7 separate regions of the Homo sapiens genome follow, and all the other regions are linked to region 6. The links are contacts of gene promoters, found by promoter capture Hi-C in blood cells and fetal thymus (Javierre and others, 2016). All regions are on one chromosome and are shown on one strand. The core of a region is centred on a gene start or on the middle of the fragment in contact, and the rest is flanking DNA. Distances in the headings are between cores, read along the strand shown.

Region 1 (3,557 bases), core at 345-2,844, 650 kb after region 6:
CTCCTAATGCTATCCCTCCCCTAGCCCTCCCCTCCCGCAACAGGTCCCAGTGTGTGATGCTTCCCTCCCTGTGTCCACGTGTTCTCACTGTTCAACTCACACTTATGAGTGAGAACATGCAGCATTTGGTTTTCTGTTCCCGTGTTAAGAGTGCTGAGAATGATGGTTTCCAGCTTCATCCATGTCCCTACAAAGGACATGAACTCATCCTTTTTTATGGCTGCATAGTATTCCATGGTTTATATGTGCCACATTTTCTTAATCCAGTCTGTCATTGATGGACATTTGGGTTGGTTTCAAGTCTTCGCTGTTGTGAACAGTGCTGCAATAAACATACATGTGCCTGTGTCTTTATAGTAGAATGATTTATAATCCTTTGGGTATATACCCAGTAATGGGATTGCTGAGGCAAGGAAATAAGAGAGGACACAAACAAATGGACAAACAGTCCATGCTCATGGATGGAAAGAATCAATACTATGAAAATGGCCACACTGCCCAAAGGAATTTATAGATTCAATGCTATCCCCATTAAGCTACCACTGGCTTTCTTCACAGAATTAGAAAAAACTAAATTTCATATGGAACCAAAAAAGCGCCAATATAGCCAAGACAATCCTAAGCAAAAAGAACAAAGCTGGAGGTATCACGCTGCCTGACTTCAAACTACATTACAAGGCTACAGTAACCAAAACAGCATGGTACTTGTACCAAAACAGATATATAGACCAAGGGAACAGAACAGAGGCGTCAGAAATAACACGACACATCTACAACCATCTGATCTTTGACAAACCTGACAAAAACAAGCAATGGGGAAAGGATTCCCTATTTAACAAATCGTGCTGGGAAAACTGGCTAGCCATATGCAGAAAACTGAAACTGGACCCCTTCCTTATACCTTATACAAAAATTAATTTAAGATGGATTAAAGATTTAAACATAAGACCTAAAACCATAGAAACCCTAGAAGAAAACCTAGGCATATTAGCAAAGACTTCTTGATTAAAACACCAAAAGCAATGGCAACAAACACCAAAATTGACAAATGGGATCTAATTAAACTAAAGAGCTTCTGCACAGCAAAAGAAACTATTATCAGAGTGAACAGGCAACCTACAGAATGGGAGAAAATTTTTGCAATCTATCCATCTGACAAAGGGCTAATGGATCCAGAATCTACAAAGAACTTAAACAAATTTACAAGAAAAAACAACCCCATCAAAAAGTGGGCAAAGAATTTTAATTTTTTTTCTTTTCTTTCTTTTTTTTTTTTTTTTTTTTGAGATGGAGTCTCGCTCTGTCACCCAGGCTGGAGTGCAGTGGTGCGATCTTGGTTCACTGCAACTTCCGCCTCCCAAGTTTAAGCGATTCTCCTGCATCAGTCTCCCATGTTGCTGGGATTACAGGCATGCACCACCACGCCTGGCTAATTTTTGAATTTTCAGTACAGACAGGGTTTCACTATGTTGGCCAGGCTGGTCTTGAACTCCTGACCTCAAGTCATCTGCCCACCTCAGCCTCCCAAAGGGCTGGGATTACAGGCATGAGCCACCACACCTGGCCAAAAATCATAATTTTTTTTGTGTGGGGTGGGTTTCTTTACCATGAGGTTGACCTGTGTTAAATCAAGGCATCAACTGCGTATACCAAAGTCTCAAGAGGCAGTAAGTAATATGATAATGTACATAAGAGCTTGTTTTGCTAGAAGAAATGCCCAATATAAAGCAGTTATGGCTAAAACTAGGTAAAAGAAAGTCCAGAAAAGGAGAGAGAAATCCCTTTTTCAAGTTTGCAGTAAATCTTTTTAAATGATACAGAGATACTGTCTGTCCCTAATTCTGGATTCCGGTACTATTGTCAACCTTAACCAACAACTATCTAGAGGAAGATCTGATTGTATTCAATAAAGACAAGGCATCCAAGTTCTGTCTCCAAAACAGACTCAACTGATAAACAACACTCTAACATCCCATATTCAATTCCATTAGGATATAGTCACTTGATACCAAGTTCCAGTAAGGCATGTATCTGCTATGCGAACCGAAATGACAATTCTAGTTCATCAAAACTGACCTAGTAATTCATTAAAAATTACCTTTGAGGATCCTAACCAGAAAATAAAGAGATAAATGTATAGATTTAAAAGAAAACTGTCCCTATTCACAGATTACCTGATCATGTATGTAGAATATCCAAAAGAATCTACAAACAAATGACTAAAACTGATGAGTTTACAAAGTTATGAAATTCAAGGTCAATATATAATAACCATCTGTATTTTTATATACTAGCAACAAATGCTTGGAAAGAGAAAGTTTTAAAAATACCTTACTACAATTAAAAAAAGAAATTATCTAGGAATAAACTTAATGAAAGATGAGCAAAAACTCTACCTAAAATACTTCAAAACACTGCAGAGAGATATTAAAGACCTAATAGAGATACATCACATACATGGATTGAAAGATAAAACACTGTGAACACACCAGTTCTCCCCAAGTTAATCTATATATTCAACATGATCCCAATCAAAACATCAGCAACAGGCATTTTGTAGAAATTGACAAGTTGATTTTAAAACTAATATGAAAATCCAAAGAACCTAGAACAGCTAAAATAATTTTGATGAATAAGTATACTACCTGATTTTAACACTTTGCTACAATAATTAAGACAGTATAGTATAGGCATAAAGACAGACAAACAGATCAATGAAATAGAGTCCAGAAATAACATTCGCACTTACATTTGACTTCACAACAGAGGTGCTACTGGAATTCAGGGGGGAAATAATAGTCTTTTCAACAAATGGTGCTGGAATAATTAAATATTCACATGGAAGAAAACATGAGAATATCTTGGGATCTTGCAAATACCTTGGGATAGGCAAAGATTCCTTTGACCAGACACAAAAAGCACTAACAATAAAATTAAAAATAGAGAAAATGAACTTCATCTAAATAAAATTTGTGCTTATCAAAAGACACAGTTAAGAAAACGATTAGGTGGCTGGGCACAGTGGCTCACACCTGTCATCTCAGCTCTTTGGGAGGTCCATCAGGGAGGATCACTTGAAGTCAGAAGTTCGAGACCAGCTTGGGCAACAAGACCCTGTCTCTACAAAATAATTAGCTAGGCATGGTGGTGTGCACCTGTAGTCCCAGCTACTTAGGGAGGCTAAGGCAGGAGGATCACTTGAGACCAAGAGTTTAAGGCTGCAGTGAGCTATGATTGTACCACTGCACTCCAGCCTGGGTGACAAAGCAAGACCCTATCTCTAAGGAAAAAAAAAAAAAAAAAAAAAAAAAGATTAGGGGAAGCAATGGACTACAGGAAAAACAAAATACATACCTGAAAAAGCACTTGCAACCAGGATATATGAGGATAATAAAAAAAATGAACAATCCAAATTTTTTAATGAGCAAAAGAATAGACAGCAGAAAGCGCTATGAATGACCAATAAACAGTAATTCTGATTAATTACCAGATGACTACTCACTATCAATAGTCATCAGTGAAATGCAAACTAAAACCACAATGAGATTCCATTTCAC
Region 2 (3,456 bases), core at 269-2,768, 630 kb after region 6:
CCTCAACTTTAAGAAGCACTTCCATCATCCACCTACTAGTTCCCCTCTATTCTTTACAAATTAGAAACAATTTGCTGAAATCTAAATTTGATTCAGCTAAAATAGGCTCAGATATATTTGCGTGCCCATCTGTGTGTGTGTGTGTGTGTGTGTGTGTGTGTGTGAGAGAGAGAGAGAGAGAGACTTTGACAGTTGTAAATACTTTTTCCGCTTTGCCTACTTTATGTTGTATACCCATGTGTTTACTAACAAGTTGATCACATGGGTGTATTCATAAGACCACTGTAATATTGATGTTATTGTTGCCGCTTGAGAAAAAAAGGTCAACAGCTGATTCCTTAAAACAACTGTCACAGAATGGCTGGGCTGAGAACGCTGCCAAGAGCCCTGCAGCTGGTGGGAGAAGTGTCTGGTGGGAGAGGTGTGTGGTGGGAGAGGTGTCTGATGCCTCGGCCTGCTGCTTCACATCTCTCACTCAAGAGTTTCTTCTGGTTTCACACTTTTTAACCTCTCCGTGCTTTAGCAGCCGTGACCTTGCCTTCATTGCTTCATCCAGTGCAGGCCTGGGTTATTGAAGACACCAAAGTGTTTCTCTTTCAGCTTGAAAACCAGGCAGGTTTACACATGGGTTTCAGTGTATTTGCCTTTGAACCCTTAACTAAACTTTAGCCTTTTGGCTGGTATAGAATGTCTTTAGCTGGGGTGACCTGGGACGGTGTTGCGGTTTACCGTCTCCAGCTTCAGCCTTTCCAGAAACCCTTGTGGAAGGCAGTATCGGCTGTAGGTTTCATCATCATATTACAGTTTGAGGTCACCACTATTTGGGGGACAAGCTTGCGTCCTGCTGAGGGGCAGGGTTTTCAGCAGAGGGTCAGTGGTGGGGCTGGGCCATCGTGGAGGTGGCCCCAGGAGTTGTATGGCCATGCATATGGCCATGCTCTAACACATTCCGTGTGGTCTGCTCAGAGCTGGATGCCTCCTTTAGGCAAGGTTTACAGTCTATTTTCTAAAGTTTTAAGTATTTTTAAGAGGTATTGAGACTAATGAATATAATAGTTGAGTAATTTAAATGTTTATTTTTAATGGAAGGATTTTTACTAAAAAGAAGCTAATTGACATGGAAATGTCAGTGAAATTCCTTACCTACAAGGAAAGTAAACATTTTGTATCTAAGTAAACTATAATGTGCACATTTTAAGTATAAAGAAATCTGATATTTGAAAGAAAAAAAAGAAACAATTTGCTGAAATCACAAGGACCATTAAACAATAGTTTTGCCTTTAAAGTTAAGTTTACAAGATAAAAGAGGCAAGTATTGAAACTTTGCTTTAATGAACTGATACCACTAAGTCTGCAGATGAAGAAACTTTGACAGATTCCCTAAACTGCAGGAAAATTATCAGCAATGATGTATATGTCCTTTCTAAATGTGAGAACACAGTTTACTAAGTATCCTAATTAAAGAATTCTTGTGTTCTTTTACTCAATAACACATTAAAAAGGGGTTAAAAAATTATCATAAAGCAGCTTGATCTTGCTATGACATCTACATTAATTAAAACTTCTCATTCAGTTGCCATATCCTTTAAAGTCACAAATTTGCTGCCAAATTTTTATGAAAATAAAGTCAAACTGATTATCCTGTATACTGAAAATTCCTCTCCTATTCACTCTTTAATGTATTTATATTTAATATTTTTTAATAAAGAAAATAACTTATGAGAGATTTTACTCATTTGCCTAATTTATTATCTCTGGTATATAAAGAATTATTAATCCTTATTTTTATAAACATCCTCCTCAAGAAATGCCCCAAACAGGAGTAATGATTTAAAAAATTAAGTTTAATTCATAATGTTTATTATTTAGATGACAAAAACTTATTTCATTTCCTCACCCTACCTCCACCCTCCTAGCCCTGAAATCAAAATTAGTTATGCAGAGGCAGCATAAAATAATGAAAATAATCTAGAGCTTTAAAAATTGAGCTCTAAAGATCTTTGAAAAATAGTTTTCTTTTTTTCAAATGTCCCTGGAAGAAAGAAAACAAAACAAGTGAACATCCCCGTTCCATCCTCTGTACTTGTATAAAATCACTGTCAACAGTTTCTTGGTTATTCTTCCAGAAATGTTCCATTTATCTGCGTAACCACCCTACCCTCAAATACAATTATATTATTTGTATACACTTTGTAAAGCTTCTTTTCAAAAGTACAATCCCCTATTGATCAGTACTTTATTTCCAGTTTTATGCTGCTGCAACAATACTGCAACTGTTTTTCTACATCTATATCTCTATAATAAATTTCTAGTGGTTGCTGGATAAAAGAACATTTGCATTTTAACACTGATAGCTGTTGCTAACCTCCTTACTGTACACACACACAATGCCACTGTATACAAGCCATGAATAACAAGCCAAACTGAATTGCCATTTATCTGCAATCTACCTTCTATCCCCTAAGCCTTTCTTTCCTCTATCTATTGATAAAATGTCTCCCCCCATCCATTCTACTGCCATTACTAAATACACAAATCCTGACAAATTCTTTAAAGATTTACCTTGCCAGGTGTGGTGGCTCACACCTGTAATGCCAGTATCTTGGCAGGCCAAGACAGGAGGATCACTTGAGCTTAGGAGTTCAAGACCAGCCTAGGCAACATAGCAAGACCCACTCTCTACAAAAAATTGTAAAAATTAGCTGGGCATGGTGGAGAGCGCCTGTAGTCCCAGCAGCTTGGGAGGCTGAGGTGGGAGAACTGCTTGAGGCCAGGAGGTCAAGGCTGTAGTGAACCATCATCACACCACTGCACTCCAGCCTGGGAAGCAGAGTGAAACCTCATCTCAAAAAAAAAAAGGATTTACCTCAAATATCACTCTTGATAAATGTACTCTCTTCTTTATGATCTTTAAAATGTCAATATAAGTCACTACTTTTTCCCCAATAGGTCTACTTGAATCCTGAGACTATGTCTTCATCAAAAGTAAACTAACATTACGTGGGAGCTTTAAAAAAAAAATAAGCGAAAATCAACAACAACAACAAAAAACAACCAACCAGATTTTAAAATGGGCAAAGGACTTGGATGGATGTCACTCAAAAGAAAATACACAAAGGCCGGGAGCGGTGGCTCACACCTGTAATCCCAGCACTTTGGGAGGCCGAGGCAGGCGGACCATGAGGTCAGGAGATCGAGACCATCCTGGCTAACATGGTGAAACCCTATCTCTACTGAAAATACAAAAAAATTAGCTGGGCGTGGTGGTGGGCGCCTGTAGTCCCAGCTACTCAGGAGGCTGAGGCAGGAGAATGGCGTGAACCCAGGAAGTGGAACTTGCAGTGAGCCGAGATTGCGCCACTGCACTCCAGCCTGGTGACAGAGCAAGGCCCTGTCTCTTAATAAAAAATTAAAAAAAAAAAAAATTTTTTTTGGAGAGCAAAAGGGAAGAATATA
Region 3 (3,537 bases), core at 268-2,767, 780 kb after region 6:
TTGGGAGTGGAGGTAGGTTGGGGCTGGGATGGCTAGCATTCACTGAGCTTTTAGCAGAAAAAGGCACATCATTTCATTCTAGCTGCTGATTGGGATGGTAGTATCGTCCTCCCTTTATTATTTTGAGTACTTTAATGGTGTGAAAAGCTTTTCATTGTTCACCTAGCAGTAATACCGTCCTCCCTTCCATGAGCATCACCCTTTTCCCAAGGCACAACCGCTGAGTTTTCAATCACATTGAAAACTCATCTTATTATGTACTAAATTCCTGTATGCTCTGGGCCCAAGCTCAACCAAAGACATTTTAACCCCCAAGTTCTAAAAAGTAGATCTACAGCATCTCCTTAACTTTAACCTACTTTAGTCGTACACTGTGTAATGAGTAGCTCCAAGATAATAACCCACTTAATCTGCTCAAGGAGCAGCCAAAAGCTGCATACCATCACCTACCAGGCCGTCTTTCTTCTTCATACGAGCTGCACTTACAAGTATTAATTCAGTTTAAAGCAGCTATTTAAATGCAGAAACTTGCATTTTAAAAATCTTTCCAGGTGATTCTGCCAATTAAAAAATCTCTGGTGTAAGCAGCCTCTCTCTCTACTGGTAATAAAGTTTAAAAAAAAGTTTGTATATGCCATTACACTGTCAAGTTTATAGAGGATAGTGCTTTCTCCTATTGACAGGACATCACGACATTATGAAAATCCATGGCTGAATTCATCCATAAAGCAGTCACTAACAGGCTGACGTGAAAGACTATAGAAAACTGGCCTCCTCAACTGTGTCTGAACATTTGAAAGGTCTAAGTAAGCCTCTTAATTTCATGGCAATATAATAAAAATATTTTGTCAGTGAGGCCCTACATTGTTTTGGGAGGTGGTATTGAGGGGAAGGAATAGGCAGGCCATATGCTACAGCTAAAATAAAAACATACAATTTATTATATTGAAAAGTGCAGGGGGCAGGGGTGAAGGAATAAACAATGGACTTAGATGAGTTTGGTTAGATGGAATTACTCACTTTGTAAAGTTAAAACCCATCCAATTTATTATGTTAATAGAACAAGCCCTTACTGGTGTCAGCACCAGTGAGACAAATCTCTTAACTGTGATACAAAAAATATTTATGTTACATTTAGGCTGAAAATGTTTTATTTTTAATTAAAAAAAAATTTTTTTTTTTTTGAGATGGAGTCTTGCTCTGTCGCCTAGGCTGGAGTGCAGTGGCGCTATCTCGGCTCACTGCAACCTCTGCCTCCCAGGCTCAAGCGATTCTCTCCTGCCTCAGCCTCCTGAGTAGCTGGGACTACAGGCGCGCACCACAACGCCCAGCTAATTTTTTTGTATTTTTTAGTAGAGACAGGGTTTCGCCATGTTGGTCAGGCTGTTCTCGAACTCCTCACCTCAGGTGACCCGCCCACCTTGGCCTCAAACTCCCAAAGTGCTGGGATTACAGGCATAAGCCACCGTACCCGGCCTGAAAATCTATTTTAAAAGAAGCGACTTTTCTATCCTAATTCTACTTTATCAAAGTTATTGCAATTAGCTTTCATTTTCTTTCAAGTGGAAGGTGCAGGGAAATTGCTGGTAAGGAGAGGGAAGCTGGCGAGCAGCCTTATTAAAGAACAGCTTATGCTTAAATATTTTTGAAGGGGCCGGGCATGGTGGCTCACACCTGTAATCCTAGCACTTTTGCAGGCCAAGGTGGGCGGATTGCTTGAGCCTAGGAGTTTGAAACCACCCTGGGCAACGTATCAAAACCCCGTTCTACCAAACACAAGAACAACAACAAAACAAAACAAAACAAAACAAACAAAAAAACCACAAAAAAACCCCCCAAAATTAGCCGGGCATGGTGGCACATGCCTGTAGTCCCAGCTACTCAGGAGGCTGAGGTTGGATGATCGCTTGAGCCTGGGAGGCGGAGGCTATAGTAAGCCAAAAATCACACCACTGTACTGTACTCTAGCTTGGCTGACAGTGAGAACTTGTCTCAAAAAATAAAAAATTTTAAATGGGTACTGCAACTATTCTTTGTGCTTTTTATGGGAGTGATGCAAGAGGTTAGACAAGAAAATCTTAAAACAGAAATTAGAATGAACAACTTAAGAGAATTCTGGACACAGCGGGCATGCAGTATTTAATATGTTCCAGTTACACACCTGGATTGGCCTTCATCATTCCAATATCCCACATCTACCCCTCAATTAGGATTCTCTTTAATGCTATTCTATCTAGCCTTCCTTGACCATCCAAGCCTTACACAACTCTATGATGAACAGGTACTACTACTAACACTTTGTAGGGAAGAAAAAGCATGAGATCAAGTAATTCACCCAATGCCATTCTGTTATTAAATGGTAGGGCTGAGACTAGAGCATGGACCATTTGATCCCAGAGCCTGCACTCCTGAATGATACATGAAATTACTTGGATAAAGGGTCAATTATACTAGAGATCTCACATTTTCCAGGGACTGAAAGTTACTTCTGTTTTTGTTGTTGTTAAGGAATCTTGCTCTGTCGCCCAGGCTGGAGTGCAGTGGTGCGATCTCGGGCTCTCTGCAACCTCTGCCTCCTGGGTTCAAGCGATTCTCTTGCCTCAGCCTCCCGAGTAGCTGGGATTACAGGCATGCACCACCACACCCGGCTAATTTTTGTATTTTTAGTAGAGACAGGGTTTCACCATGTTGACCAGGGTTGTGTTGAACTCCTGACCTCAGGTTATCCGCCTGCCTTGGCCTCCCAAAGTGCTGGGATTACAGGCATGAGCCACTGCGCCCCACCTCAAAGTTACTTCTGATTCACATTAACTTAAGACATGTTAGAGCCTTGGATTTATGTTGTCAATAAACATTTTATTAGTTCCTTGTATGGATAAGAAGCTTAAAGTCAATGACTAATTCATGCCATATACACATATTCCTGTTTTAGATTTTCTATTAGCAAACATCCTGTTCAATTGTTGTTGGGAGTTTTGAGTACATTCAGAAAATGAAACCCCACAATCACTGTTTACAACAAATGAGTATGTATTTTTCCTAATAAAATGAAGCTGCTTGAAAAAAACATACCTTAAAATTAAGAATGTACTCATCACTTAATAAGAATGTACTCATTATTAAACAATAGGCAAATCAAACAAACTACTAAAGTGGCAATGCTCGGGATTTTGAGTTTCCGCCCCAAACTTGAAAATAAAGTAGACAGCCCTCAAACTTTGAGATAAATGGATTCCACAGTGAAGTTAAGTTGCCTATACGAGAACAGAATTACTCCTAGCCATTCAATCTTCGATGGATCTTATCAACCTACTTAATCAATCTGTCAGGCAGAATAGGTAACAGTAAATTATAAAGAAGGTGCCACAGAGGTAAAAACTGGCTGTGCCCAAATTGACACTGCAGAGCAGAAAATTAATGTATGATATTAGGTCTAAAACATTTTGAGCTTTTCAGTCCCACTGGCAAAATGTATTACAAAAATAGATGCTCCAGGGAAACTAACAAAAGCAACCTTTTGATTTCGGCTTCCATGTA
Region 4 (3,242 bases), core at 116-2,615, 670 kb after region 6:
GACAGGAAATTTATAAAAAGAATATTGTATGTAATTAAAGCATAATAGTCTCTCTAAAATTGGTTCCCTATGTTGTGTCTAACTAAATTCAAACACTTTTTCATCAAGTTTAACTTCCAGGTTACCCAAATGGGCTTCCAATAAGGACAAAAAGTCACACTGCAAAAGGTTTTTTGCCTTTTTGATAACTGGCTTAAGAAACAAAACTTTATCTTCTAGAATTCTACAGTTTCACCTACAAATGATACTGCAAACGGGATATAAGTCTCTCCCCAATGATGCCTGCTACTTTTATGAATCTTCCCTGGATTCAGTTGAATGCTAGTTATGTCTTAACATGCTCCCCCTCTCCGATAAGTCCCTTCCTCCAACAAGATCCAATATATGGCTGGGCACTGTGGCTCATGCCTATAATCCCAGCACTTTGGGAGGCTGAGGTAGGAGGATCACTTGAGGTCAGGAGTTTGAGACCAGCCTGGTCAACACAGTGAAACCTCGTCTCTACTAATACAACAAAGTAGCCAGGCATGGTGGTGCACACCTGTGGTCGCAGCTACTTGGGAAGCTGAGGCACGAGAACTGCTTGAACCCTGGAGATGGAGGTTGCAATGGGCCAAGATCACACTACTAGATTCCAGCCTGGGCGACAAAGCGAGACTCATTTCAAAAAGAAAGAAAGAAAGAAAGAAAGATTCAATACAATATTCTAAGTCCCACAATCCAGGACAATGACCTACAGAGTCTCCTGACAGACCAACAGCCATTGGCAGGGCCATTGCCATACCCATGGTTAGCAGGAAGTGGTTGGGAGATGAGACCTCTACCCTCAATGTCAAAGACTTGTCATCATTGTTCTGCTGTGGGGGGAATGTGGAGACCTGATAGGTAAACAACAACATGGAAGGGGAGCATGTAGCCCCAGGAACATAACCTCATCCTGCATTTAGGCCCCTCCAGCTCCTTCCTCTTTGCAGACAGCCCCTTTTCTGTTGTGCTGCACTTGCACCCTTGCAACATATCTTTGTATCTTCATACTTTCTCTAATAATTCTTTTTTTTTTTTTTAACCTACGACTGTCTTGGTAAATTATTTTACTACCTGCAACACCAGCCCCAGCCAGTCGTACCCACAACAGAAAGGAATTCAAAGATAGGAGCCTAAAAGAAGTTTCTGTGACTATTTTAGTAAAATATGAAACCAAACTATTTTTGTAACATCAAGTAATTACCATCCATTCAAATATTTTAAATAAATTAATAAAACTGCTTTCCACTGATTAGGATTAGCATAATATTTTGGACAGGGGATGAAGTTAGGGGGGTAGAGACTGGAAACAAAGGAAAAAAGTGGGTAATTTTGGAGCATTTAAGGGCCAGTAAAATGAGGCTCTGGGCCTCAAGGCCAGGATACTAGGATTATGAAAAAGGGTAAGATGGTAGAAGGGTATCAAGGACAAATTTCACCAACTTAAAAACTACCAGTCCTGTATGTGCATAAACTGTGGCTTCCACACAAACCTGTAGTCTCTATCATACAAGCTGTCCCAAAAGTACATGTTCAAGTAAGCCTTTGTATATATAAATTCTGTCAACATGAAATACATTAATTTTTAAAATAATGAATATATACCAAAATATTTTTAAACGTTAGCTTTTATTTAACCTTTTTGGGGTCATGGGCTCCTTTGAGTATCTGACAAAAGCTATGGACCACCTCCCAAGAAAATTGTGCATATTCACATTCAAAATTAAGAATGCATACAATTTAAAGAGACCCAAGACTCTGGATTAAGAATTCCCTTTACAGGCCGGGCGTGGTGGCTCACGCTTGTAATCCTAGCACTTTGGGCGGATCACGAGGTCATGAGTTCGAGACCAGCCTGACCAACATGGAGAAACCCCATCTCTACTAAAAACACAAAATTGGACGGGCGTGATGGTGGGCACCTGTAATCCTAGACACTCGGGAGACTGAGGCAAGAGAACTGCTTGAACCTGGGAGGCAGAGGTTGCAGTGAGCCGAGATTGCGCCACTGCACTCCAGCTGGCTGACAAAATAAATAAATAAATAAAAATAATAATTCCTTTTATAGGCCAGGAATTTGAGACCAGTCTGGACAACACTGCAAGACCCTATCTCTACTTAAAAAACTAAAGACAGAAAGAACACCCATTATATACCATGGTAAAGTCCTTCTATCCACGATGAGCTATGTGGCTTTTAAACTGGTTGAACTCTAACTGCCTGAACAGCTCCAAGTCATTAGTTACACATGTTGACCTAAAAGAAGAAGCTGAGGCAAAATAACAGAGGGATTTTATTTGGGCCAAAGTTGAGGACTGCAGCCCGGGACACATTTCCAAGTTGCCTTGGGGGGTGTTCTGTCTGTCTGTCTGCCTCTGTTACAAACAGGTTTTTAAAGGAAACAAGGAGTGAGCTGATACCAAGTTGTTTGACAGGAATTCTCATTGGTTTACAGAGATAACACTGATTAGTGATTGGCTATACATTGTTGAACTACAGGGTATGAATTATAATACCCATCGTATGGCATTTTATGGCCATTGGCATCATTTAACAACCCACATGGCAAGTGGCTTCAAGGTAATTATTTAGCTCAGGAGAGGTGAGACTGCTGTTACATTTTAAATGACTCTTTCTGATGGATAATTTAAAGAAGCTCCCATTCCTCAGATAAAAATTTTTTTTCCTTTCCTGGAGGGAGGCACAGAAAGTATGACAGCTGAGATAAAATGACTGTGGAGTAAAGGGAAAAGGGTTTAATAATCTGGAGGTGAGGGAGGGCAGGGGTAGAAGGTTGTTTTAATAAACAGGAAGTGAGGGGGATAATTCCTACTGCACAGTAGGCTCTCTACAAATAAATAAATGAAAAAAATGAATAAAACGAACAAAAAGAAGTAGTTGAGATGATGAAGAATCTTTTATGACATGGCCCCAAAAGTAGAGAGAAAAAATTAATATTTTATTTGCTACCCTGTAAACATATCTTAAACACATCTGTTCTATGGAAAAATGCAATTGAAATTCTCAACAACCATTTTTACAAAGTTTTAGAAAATGACTCATCCATAAAACTTGCCAATTTATATGAAATTCATTAGAAGGAAAAATCAAATCACTAAATCAAAAACCTAAAGGGAAAAATGACTAAATAAAGAAAAAAAAGTACAGAAAATGGTTAATTATAAAACTAAATGCAGAAAAATTAAACTACAGTTATT
Region 5 (3,365 bases), core at 208-2,707, 700 kb after region 6:
TCCCAAAGTGCTGGGATTACAAGTATGAGCCACTGCGCCTGGCTCCATTACATCTTTTTGGGCAGTAGCACTCTCATCTCTCTGGAGTGAGATACCATTTTGCCAATGTCTGTGCTTCATTTTCCTCATCTATAGAATAGGGATAATAATACAACTGTTCTGATGGTGTTATTTGGAATTAAATAGAACAAACACCTGTAAACCATTTAGAAAAGCATATGACACGTAGCAAGCATTCAATAAATGTTGGGCATGATTGCTGTTGTTGTATTATTGTTATTATTATGTAACTTCACTTTGAACAAAGGTAGATAAAGACTTGAGGAATTCATTCACTATTTCAAAGTATTCTGCTAGAAATTTGAAGGGGAAACTAATATCTATTCTAGCAAGTTTAAATCAAAAGGAGTAACAGGTAGTAATGATAAATGTCAATTAGAAAACAAAGTGGATTGCAAGAAAGATTGTGGATTCAATTCTAATCACAAGATCTGTGTTTCTAGAAGTTGCCTTTTAATGTGGCAACTGATTGGGAGCCTCCCAGAGAAATAAAAAGATCACCAGTTGCCCAGGGTTAGTGAGGAGGGAGGAATGAATGGGCAGAACACAGGGGAGTTTTAGGGCCATGGAACTATTCTGTACCTTCTAAAATGGTGGATGCATGTCATTATACCTTTGTCCTAACCCATAGAATGTACAACACCAAGAGTGAACCCTAATTTACACTATGGACTTTGGGTGATAATACTGTTTGTAAGTTCATCTATTGTTAACAAATGTACTACTCTGGTGCAGGCTGTTGATGGCGAGGCCAGTAGGGGGCAGTGGAGAGGGAATATTCTGTACTTTCTGCCCAATTTTGCATAAAAAACTTAAAACTGCTCTAAGTAATAAAGTCAATTTTTAAAAGTCTATTAAAAATCTCTTTCAAAGAAAGAGAGTCGCCAGGCTCATCCCAGATCTACTAAAGGAAACTTGGAATCTTTATAACAAGGAAATGTTTATGTTCAAGCAAGTTCAGGAAACTGCACTGAGCTAAGGCCACCATTTCTTTGAAAGCCAAGAACACCAACCACACACACTTGTTTACATACTGGCTCTGCTGCTGACCTCATCTATTGTCTTTCTGTAAAAGGAATCACCTGCCCAGTAGTGGGTCCTCCCTTAGTTCCTGGACCCCAACCTCTTGGACCTTTTCATTGTCTATGGTCAATCAGTCACAAATCCTGTGAACCCTCACATTCAAATTTTGTTGTTGTTATTGTTTTTTGAGATGGAGTCTCGCTCTGTTGCCCAGGCTGGAGCGCAGTGGTTTGATCTCGGCTCACTGCAACCTGTGCCTCCTGGGTTCAAGTGATTCTTCTGCCTCTGCCTCCTGAGTAGCTGGGATTACAGGTGCGCGCCACCACACCCGGGTAATGTTTGTATTTTTTAGTAGAGACAAGGCTTCACCATGTTGGCCCAGCTGGTCTTGAACTCCCGAACTCAGGTGATCCCCTCCCCTCGGCCTCCCAAAGTGCTGGGATTACAGGCGTGAGCCACCATGCCCAGCCACATTCAAATTTTTGTTTCTGCCTTTTTCCTCTGCATCATAATAATCTTACTAAAGTACCAATGTTCCTAAAACGCACTGCTGAAAGCTCTCCATGGGCTTCCCGATGTGTTGGGGAATCCAGGGTAAATTCCCATCTGGTTTTACTCTCTCCTCCTCGGCCCCAGATAGAGGCCTGAGTTCATGCCTGTCCTTCATCAGAGCTGCCCATTCTCCTTCACTGTGACTCTCCAGATATCACGAATGCCTTCTTTCTTTTTTCTTTTTAATTTTCTTTTTTCTTTTTTTTTTTTTTTTTTGAGACAGAGTCTCGCTCTGTCGCCCAGGCTGGAGTGCAGTGGCGCGATCTCAGCTCACTGCAAGCTCCGCCTCCTGGGTTCACGCCATTCTCCTGCCTCAGCCTCCAGAGTAGCTGGGACTACAGGCGCCCGCCACCATGCCCAGCTAATGTTTTGTACTTTTAGTAGCGACGGGATTTCACCGTGTTAGCCAGAATGGTCTCAATCTCCTGACCTCGTGATCCGCCCGCCTCGGCCTCCCAAAGTGCTGGGATTACAGGCGTGAGCCACTACCTGGCAATGAATGCCTTCTTTCAAGGGGATCTTCCAGATCACATGGCCAGCCCATTTCTCTGACATCTGTAAGATTCATTATCTGATGTTTACATGGACACTTAATCACGTGTGTTCTTTCTTGTATTTTATCTAACCTATTTTGTGTTATGTTTATTGGGACTGGTCAATGAAAGCTGCTGAAGGGCATATAGCATCTTCCTAATGAATGGCTGAATTCATGGGCTAGTACTATTTCTAGAGTGAAATAGTACATGTTCTAGAGTACTATTTCTAGAACAGAACACATGTTCTCTGTGTTTCTGTACATGTTCACGTAGTCTGGCCCATGAATTCTGAAGGTATTTGTGTGTTTAGAACATTAAAGAGCAAATCTAGACTTTTTCTTGTTTGTTTTTCTTAGCTATCCTCCACAAACTTATACTATGAAATGAGCCTCTTGTTCTTTTGCTTTCAATCTCATGCCAGATTATAGCAAGGAAATTGCACATCGAATCAATAGCATGTGGCTACATACAGTGACTGTAGTGTCAGAAGCAGAAGTTGGAGTATAGAGCCTGACAAAGGATGTCGTGCTGTTACTAACAGCAAGAGACTCCAGGCTGGGTGCGGTGGCTCACGCCTGTAATCCCAGCACTTTGGGAGGCCAAAGTGGGCAGATCACCTGAGGTCAGGAATTCGAGACCAGCCTGGCCAACTCGTCTCTACCAAAAACTACAAAAATTAGCCAGGCATGGTGGCGCACCAGTAGTCCCAGCTACTCAGGAGACTGAGGCAGGAGAATCGCTTGAACCCAGGAGGCAGAGGTTGCAGTGAGCCAAGATCGTGACACAGCCCTCTAGCCTGGGCGAGAGAGTGAGACTCTATCTCAAAATTAAAAAAAAAAAAAAGGTTCCATGCAGGAGAGGGTAGTTCGGTGACCTCCAAAATTGCAATTTGAGATATTTCAATGATTTGGAAAACTGATATGAGTTATTTAAAATTAGGGCTTTCCGGAAAATCCAGAACAGTGGGCACTGTGCTCCTTAATGATTCCCACTGTGCTAGAATCACAGAGGAGACAAAAGGATAAGTCATGTAATGTCCCTGCTATTGAGGAGCTTATAGTATTGTTGGGAAGCTAGGACTTTCAGAAAGGAAATACGTATAAGGTGGTTAATAAACAAGCTAAAAAAAAAAACCAACAAGAATTTTCACCTGTAGAATGTGCCAACCCTCTGTAGATCATATTTCAGATCCTT
Region 6 (3,681 bases), core at 686-3,185:
TAATATTTGTTAATAAAAATCTCTCGTTTCTTTTTTTAAATTAACTGATTTACCTCAAGAGTGCCTTCTAGGAATGTTTGGACATTTGTTCAAAAACATGACTACCATAATCCAAATTTCTGATTTCTATACCAATTTAAATCACCAATTTACAAATTGTTCAGTTTTTTCCTTAAGAAACAAAAAAGCCAGTTTTTTTGAAGCTACTAAAAAATTTGACTGTTAAGACATGTAAATCCTTTTTGTGGCCCTAGTGCAAGTCACTTTATGACTGCTGACCTAAGTGCCTCATCTATAAAATGGGGATAATTAAACCTGTTCTATTTACTGCAAGGATCAACTGAGATATTAGGAGAAAAACAATTTAAAATGTCAAAAACCTACTAATGTACACAATAAGCATAGTGTCATTTACTTTTCCTTTCATTTTCAATCCATTTTTTTCCTTACGGGATTACAGAATTAATTTATGTAAAGTATAATATAACCCCCAGACAGCATCACAGAATCTAAACTATTCAAGCTCTTCTAATAAACAGCATTGAGCTAAAAACTTGGCGTAACAAAACAATTATAAATTCCAAATTTAATGCTAAATGACATTCACATTTCAGTAATTCGTTCTTCACTGCAGTGCATAAAGTTATAGAGCTATTAAAAGACGAGTTAATTATGAATAAACCGTTATTAAACACAAATAGTTGAAGAAATACACCTCAAATTAACAACAGCCACAAACATTGATTTGGTCCATGTAATGAGTATGAGCAGAACCGTAGAGGCAGGGAGTTCACTGTAAATCTACAAGATTTCAGTAATAAAACAGGAGAATATGGAGCAAAATAGCCTAGAGCAACAGAGAATATATGAGTTAATAAACGTTCTCAAAGTCGTGTAGATTTTAGCCTAAGAAGACAACAAAGGGAAGAAACCAAGGACTGAACGTCTATTTTCTTTGAAACTAATGGATTTTTTTTAAACTTACATTATTTCACACTAGATCCCCTACCAAGACTGCCATAAAGAAAAATTAAACCTCTATTCAGCTCAAAAGTTTACGTTTCAGGAACGTACTAACACCAGTAACCGTGAACATCAGGTGGTTTCTCTTTGTTGCTTATCGATGACACAGCTTTCTTCCCGACAGTCCACAACTAATTACAACCCAACTGCTTGCCTAATGGCCCGTTCCTACCTCCATCTAAACAGCAGTAACGAAACGGGCGTTCAAGCAGCACAAAGAGGGTCCTTGGTGACAGAGAGGGACGTCAGGGAGAGGGTCGCGGGGGTCTGGCTGCGCAGGGGAGAGGCTCGGGGCGACGAGCGGGGCTGGGCGGCTGGGGCCTGCTGGCCGCGTCCGTCGCCCCGAGCGGGGAGATTTCGGCGGGCCTCGGGGCGCTTTGGAGACCAGGGCCAGACGGTGCCTCCGGCCCGGCTGCCGGGAGACGCAGCGGTGGGGCCAGGCCCACTGTATCTCAAACGAACCGGGGAGGCGCTGAACAGCCACGGGCCGGCAGCCCGGGCCTCGCAGACACTGAGGAAAGGCTGGGGGCGCCCGGGGCCTGAAGGAGCAGGGCGCTGAGGGTCTGCATGGCCCCTCTGGGGGATCTGGCGGCGGAGTCGCAGCCGTCCCTGGGGCGCGGGGTAGTAGTGGCAATTGTGCGAGCCGACAGGAGCCCGCGTCTCGGGGAGGGCGGGCCGGCGGCTGAGGTATACAAGAGGATGAAGGTAGGCCGGAGGGGTGTCCCGGCCGCCTCTCGAACCCCTGCCTCCTTCACCTGCCACGAACACCACGAAGACCGCGCCGCTCCTTTTGGCCGTCGCGATGGCGGCCGGAATGGCGCCCTGGAACCACAGCATCGCTCCCTTCGGGCCCAGGCGCTCGCTCGGTGTGTAGTCTCCGCAGTCCCGAAGCCGGCTCCGCCCTCCGTCTTCGTCCGGCTCTGCGGCCCCCGCAACCTTGGCTGGTTCGGCCCCCACCTCCGGCTCCGCACAAGCGCGCACGCCCGTCAGCGGCACCCGGAGACGCGCGCTAGCGCGCGCGAGAACACCTCACGTCACAGTCGCAACCCGTCGGTGTCCGTGCCCCAGGACCTTCTCTCGTTGGCGAGTCGATGGTGCGGGCGCGCGCCCGCTAGGCCTCCGGTCGCGCAGTCCAGGAAGTGGAGGAAAGCGGTAAGAGGGATGACTAACCGCTAAGACACGTCGGCGGCGCCTGCAGTGAGGCATGATGGGAATTGTAGTCCACTTAGGCTTATTCGCCTCCATATTGTGGAGCATGTAACTGTGGGTTCTGAGGCACAGCTAAAGGGGGCAGTAGTGAGGGCCACTACACATTCTATAAAGGGGAGAGGGAGAAATAAGTGTCACTCCAACTGGCATATGCTATTCTCGGCCTCGTTGAGACTCTCAGTGTGGAGGAAATAGTCCTCGCATGGAACTAAATGGGCTTTGTCGGGATTAACTCCGAGGCTTTGATTTCTTCTGAACGTAGCCCAACCTTGCAGAAAAACGGGATAAAAACCGCAAGTCACCTTCTTTAATAACCTGTAGTCCATGTGCCTAAGCGGAGGAATTGGTAGAACGCAGGCCTTCAGCAATTTCCTAGACACTGGATAGAGATCATTTCAAAACTTCAAAACGCGTTAGGCTATTGCCACAGCTACTTTTTAAAGTAACACAAAGCAGAGAATAGATTATTTCTTTTCCAGCTACTTTCCATGGTAATACAAAAGAGACTAGATAGTGATTTATTTTCCAATTTTCTGGGAGAATGTCCTATAATCAAGATGTGGCGCTTTGTGATTGGCTGCCATTAAATGAAAACTGATCCATATTTAATACTTTCATGAAATCACATGGTCTGTAATAACTATTAGCTAAAGGCTTGCATGGTTTATTTAAAGTTGCATATACTATTATGTTAAATTCTACATCAATTAAATTTATCCTCCAGCAGTACATCTATCTGACAATCTTTGCAAGATAAAGGAAGTGATACATCTGAATATACCACCTTTCCTACAGATATTTTCCCTAAAAATAGCTAATTATTTGCACTCCGATTTTTGTACTTTTTTTCCCAATCAGGCCTCTCGTATATAGTGTTATTATAAACTGAGACATAATGCTGATTAGGGACAGTTGCTTCTATAGGACAACAATCCTACAGAAAAATTAGAATTGACCTTTAACATCAACTTTAATGGACTTCTGGAAATTTGATCAATCTAGAAATTATTCCAATAGAGCTATGTCTTTAATTATCTCTAATTTTAGAATTAAATAAGAATCCTTCATAGTTTTATATTCATTTGTCAAGTGTTTATCACTCATCTTTTATGAGCTAGGCATTGTGCCTGGCACTGATAAGGAGGTGAGGCAGTCAGAAGAAGGCCCTGTCTTTGTGACTGTACAGTCTAGTCAGGAAGACAGACATTGAATAAGTAATTATGAGTGATGATAAATGTCACAGAAGGGTAATTCAGAGTGCTACAGAAGTGTATGAGGATGGGACCGAACATGGGCTAGTGGAGTCAGAAAGGGCCTTCATGAGGAAATGACGTGTCGGGGAACTCTAGGTAGGTGAAGGAGAAGGCTATTCCACATGAGGCTCTGAAGCAAGCAAACACAGTGCACTTGCAGAACTAAAAAATGCCCAGTGTGGCTATAACATAGAAA
Region 7 (3,597 bases), core at 424-2,923, 640 kb before region 6:
AAGAGTAATTTTCTGAATGTTGTGCTTTCATTATTATGACAGCTGCTCATGTTTGCAAACCACTTATTTCAAAACAACACATCATTCAGATCTCCATGATTACAGATGCAGGGACAAGGAGAGAGAAGTGACTCTCTCACTAGCCCATCAGGGCTCCTAGTTCTGACAAGATGGTCATAGCTATGGGCTTCCCATTCCAAAGGCCCACTCCCACCAGCATTCCCTCCGCTCATCTAATTCCAGTCTTCCCAATCATCTTCTTCCAATGGGAGGATAATGGTGACAAATACTCCAGGTCACAGAGCTTTCACCTATGTTAATGGAATGAAGAGGTTGGGTCATTCCTGTGGCCAAAATCTTAATTTAAAGCTGGGGTGGCTGTAGCTCAGATGGTCTATAGCCATGCCTCTGAATTTTATCTGTGTGTAAGACTTACTGGTTCATCAGAACAGATGCTGTCCAAACCTCTTGTCGCAGCCACCACTTTCTTCTTTCACCTCTCTCCAAAGTCTCCCATATCACACTGCCATCCATTTGGTTAGTAGTTTTCATGCACAATCCTTTCCATTTTTCATCACACTTTCACTGCATGATCTCATTAGAATCTCATAATGCAAACTCAAGGTAAGTAGAGAAGGTGTTAATGAGCTTTTCCACTTACCCCAGGCAATAGTTACTCTGTTCTGTGTTCCCATATGTTGCATATTCCTTTATTATAGACATTTTTGCTATAGTGTAGTTATTCCTTTACCAAGTTCTACCACTGTGTGTTTCCTTAAGGCAAGAGTACAGATCTATCTTAACAGGCTTATTGCAGCACCCACCCCCGCCCCCCGCCAAAGCTTTGCAAAGTCCTTGAGATATAGTAAGTATTGAATAAATGTTTGTTGATTTGAATTACTATACCCATTTGACAGATAAGATAATCAAGTCATACAGAGGAGCTAAATAATACAGATGCTACAGCTACTGCTTGAAATGAGTAATGGAAGAACAGGGGATAGTACATGTATGGGCCAACTCGAGGAATAAACAATCAAAGAGAAAACATCTATTGCATTCTGACTCTGGAACAAATGCCCTGAAGAGATATAAAGATAAAATAACAAGACATGATCATAGTCTGAGACTCTCGTCCAGTGACTGGTGGGCCCCTTTAACTACTCTGTATCTCAGTTTTAACTCATTCAAGTGAGCAGGCTGAAGGATAAGATCTATTATGGCTCATTTGCATAGGCTCCTCAGTATTCTGGTTGAGGAAATGCTACGTATCATCTATTTGCACAGATGGACTATAGACATGCCAGCATACGTATGGCCATGGGATTAACAAAACATGCCACATGGGCAAATAGAATCAGGTTGAAAGAGCAGTCCAGACCACCCTGAAAAAAAAAAAAAAAGGCCTAAAGGAAGAGAGAACTTGGAGAACTGAAGAGTGAAGCAGGCTTTATAAGAAGTGAGGCCAGGGCTGTGGCTAAAGTTGAAATTTATACAGGCAAGAATGACTGACGGGGTGGAAATGAATGGAGGGGGTACACAAAGTGTGTGTATTTAGAGGACAGTAATATCAGGAAGCAGGGCAACTACTTTTCCAGTGGTCTATGCCTGGATGTGAAGGGAGGTGTTTGAGGAAAAAAGAAAGCCTGTCTCCACTTCAGTCCAGTGTTATTTCATCTCTCATCTGAACTCCATTCCTGTTTCATTTATCTTGCTGGTCTCCCAATCTAAATTAGGTTTTGCCCCATTGTACAGTCTCACAGCATTCTGAACTTTAACGTCACAGCAAAAATCTTAATTATACATGCAAGTAAGCTGTTCTTTCTCTATTGCCTCTGTCTCCTGCAGGACTGAAAGGTCTTTGAGAGCAAGACCTGCAACTGTTTTATTCACTGCTGAATCCCTTGCACCTAGCATATAGTAGGTGTGCAGTAAATGTCCAGTGAACTACTACATGAAAATCAGGAATATATGAAAAACATGTCTGTCTGATGGCAGGGCCGCCTTCCAGGGCACAGTTGCTCTGGCTGCCTGGGCAGCTTAACTCAAAGTCAAGTGAGGTCGTCAGTGACAGGTGCAACCACCACCCAGGCCGAAACTTTGGAGTTTGAGTGTCACGGAGAGTGAGAATGTCCTATTTCTGTTTGAGAAACACCACCACCAAGTTTCGTCAGCAGACCCTGCCTTTGACGCTGCACCACATCCCCTCCCCATTTCCTCTCAGTCAAAACGGAAGATGCTTTTCTTTCCAAACAAACTTCTCTTGAGCTTCAGGGCCCTCCCAGACCTCCCTAAACCCACCAATCCCAGCACCCTGCCTCCTACTCAGTCCTGCAATGAGTGACTTTGTCTGTACTCATTCAGATCCATACACACCCTGTGGTCGGCTGTGTTTGTTTCTGTTTTTAAAGGGCTGAAGCAACTGAGTCTCAGAAAGAGCAGGTGACTTCTTGAAGGTCACACAGCTAAAAGCCCCGTCAAGGGCATCCAGAGCATAAAGCTTTGTCATGACGCTAGTTGCTATTTAAGTGCTTGCTAGACTCTGCTAAGTGCTTCCTCACATGACCCCTGCCGATCCTCACACCAGCCCTGTGAGATGAGTATATTATGAAGCCCAGTTTATCAGAAGGCCTAAGTCACGAATTAGTTGGATAACCAGCTCAGGGTCACTCTGCTTGAAGTCACAGATCTGATTCTAACTCGGGACCGAAGCTGACCACATAGCCTCAACTCTCCCCTACATACTCATCACATGGCTGCTGGATGATTTTTCTCTGCTTCAGATTCTCACTTATTCCACTGGACGCTCCTTGAGCAATGGAGTCACATGGTGGGACAGGTGGCCCCTGGTCACTGAAAGGCATTCCACCCAGAGGGACCCAACTTCAGGAAGTAACAACCTCTAGCACCCCCACACCTGCCTCCCTACTTTTCTCCACGCCCCTTCTTTCTTGCTCTCCCATCCACTGCAGGCCCCCACCAGGCCTTTCCTCCCTGAACCCAAACTCTCCTCCTCCCAATTATCTTCACACCAAACTCAGCTGGTTTTCTAGGGGGATGCACCTGACAAGCACATTGACTGTGACTAGCACAGCACCTACCCCAAATATGGGGCATCCCTTTACAATTCAAGCACATCTTATTTCAGCCAAATCTACAGGGACCATTTCTGTCAATTCTGTAGTAAAAATTTTATAGCCCGGGGAGTTTCTCCACCAGGGGCACATGTACTTGCATTTTAACACAGAAAAACCTTAGGAGGGAGAAGAAGGCCCCAAACATGAAGGCTGTAAATATGGATGTTCACCTCTTAACCTCTCCTGGCCCCAGCCCTCTGAAGCTGGAGACTTAAGAATAGCTGCTATAGGGGGCCAGACATGATAGCTCAAACCTGTAATCCCAGCACTTTGGGAGGCCAAGGTGGGAGGGGATTACTTGATGTCGGGAGTTTGAGACCAGCCTGACCAACATGGAGAAACCCTGTCTCTACTAAAAATGCAAAAATTAGCTAGGCATGGTGGCGCATGCCTGTAATCCCAGCTATTCAGGAGGCTGAGGCAGGAGAATCGCTTGAACCTGAGAAGCAGAGGTTGTGGT

The links. Contacts are between HindIII fragments. The CHiCAGO score rates a contact against its expected background, and 5 or more counts as called.
Region 1: a contact is called between a fragment that was not itself captured here and the fragment with the promoter of UBXN4 in region 6, in 10 of 17 cell types (erythroblasts, M2 macrophages, total CD4 T cells and 7 more). The highest score is 9.7, in erythroblasts.
Region 2: a contact is called between a fragment that was not itself captured here and the fragment with the promoter of UBXN4 in region 6, in 3 of 17 cell types (total CD4 T cells, naive CD8 T cells and non-activated CD4 T cells). The highest score is 5.9, in total CD4 T cells.
Region 3: a fragment that was not itself captured here is called in contact with the fragment with the promoter of UBXN4 in region 6 in 12 of 17 cell types (erythroblasts, activated CD4 T cells, total B cells and 9 more); the score reaches 11.1 in erythroblasts.
Region 4: a fragment that was not itself captured here is called in contact with the fragment with the promoter of UBXN4 in region 6 in 5 of 17 cell types (monocytes, non-activated CD4 T cells, total CD4 T cells and 2 more); the score reaches 8.3 in monocytes.
Region 5: a contact is called between a fragment that was not itself captured here and the fragment with the promoter of UBXN4 in region 6, in 13 of 17 cell types (non-activated CD4 T cells, naive CD8 T cells, total CD4 T cells and 10 more). The highest score is 11.6, in non-activated CD4 T cells.
Region 7: a fragment that was not itself captured here is called in contact with the fragment with the promoter of UBXN4 in region 6 in 3 of 17 cell types (fetal thymus, naive CD4 T cells and activated CD4 T cells); the score reaches 5.6 in fetal thymus.

Annotation. Positions count from the first base shown.
Region 1 is chr2:135,086,416-135,089,972 of GRCh38, reverse strand. The region is part of intron 3 of RAB3GAP1 (RAB3 GTPase activating protein catalytic subunit 1); the gene reads right to left. Among named protein-coding and RNA genes, the nearest start is that of RAB3GAP1, 36 kb to the right of the region's middle. The HindIII fragment of the contact is 4,398 bases long and covers 1-3,557 here.
Region 2 is chr2:135,109,543-135,112,998 of GRCh38, reverse strand. All of the region lies in intron 5 of RAB3GAP1 (RAB3 GTPase activating protein catalytic subunit 1), which reads right to left. Among named protein-coding and RNA genes, the nearest start is that of SNORA40B, 25 kb to the left of the region's middle. The HindIII fragment of the contact is 1,365 bases long and covers 836-2,200 here.
Region 3 is chr2:134,958,641-134,962,177 of GRCh38, reverse strand. CCNT2 (cyclin T2) reads right to left here. Exons shown (of 9, transcript NM_058241.3): 9 at 2,836-3,537. Among named protein-coding and RNA genes, the nearest start is that of CCNT2, 42 kb to the right of the region's middle. The HindIII fragment of the contact is 2,736 bases long and covers 150-2,885 here.
Region 4 is chr2:135,069,355-135,072,596 of GRCh38, reverse strand. The region is part of intron 3 of RAB3GAP1 (RAB3 GTPase activating protein catalytic subunit 1); the gene reads right to left. Among named protein-coding and RNA genes, the nearest start is that of RAB3GAP1, 19 kb to the right of the region's middle. The HindIII fragment of the contact is 6,083 bases long and covers 1-3,242 here.
Region 5 is chr2:135,040,988-135,044,352 of GRCh38, reverse strand. All of the region lies in intron 1 of MAP3K19 (mitogen-activated protein kinase kinase kinase 19), which reads left to right. Among named protein-coding and RNA genes, the nearest start is that of MAP3K19, 4.8 kb to the left of the region's middle. The HindIII fragment of the contact is 4,100 bases long and covers 1-3,365 here.
Region 6 is chr2:135,740,109-135,743,789 of GRCh38, reverse strand. It overlaps UBXN4 (UBX domain protein 4), which reads right to left and starts at 1,935. Exons shown (of 13, transcript NM_014607.4): 1 at 1,779-1,935. The coding sequence starts at 1,860. It overlaps LOC107985946 (a long non-coding RNA gene), which reads left to right and starts at 1,146. Exons shown (of 1, transcript NR_163478.1): 1 at 1,146-2,961. RefSeq lists a silencer at 1,348-1,397 and enhancers at 694-1,469, 1,798-1,857, 2,188-2,317. The HindIII fragment of the contact is 10,462 bases long and covers 1-3,681 here.
Region 7 is chr2:136,381,045-136,384,641 of GRCh38, reverse strand. No RefSeq gene overlaps it. Among named protein-coding and RNA genes, the nearest start is that of CXCR4, 260 kb to the right of the region's middle. The HindIII fragment of the contact is 1,658 bases long and covers 845-2,502 here.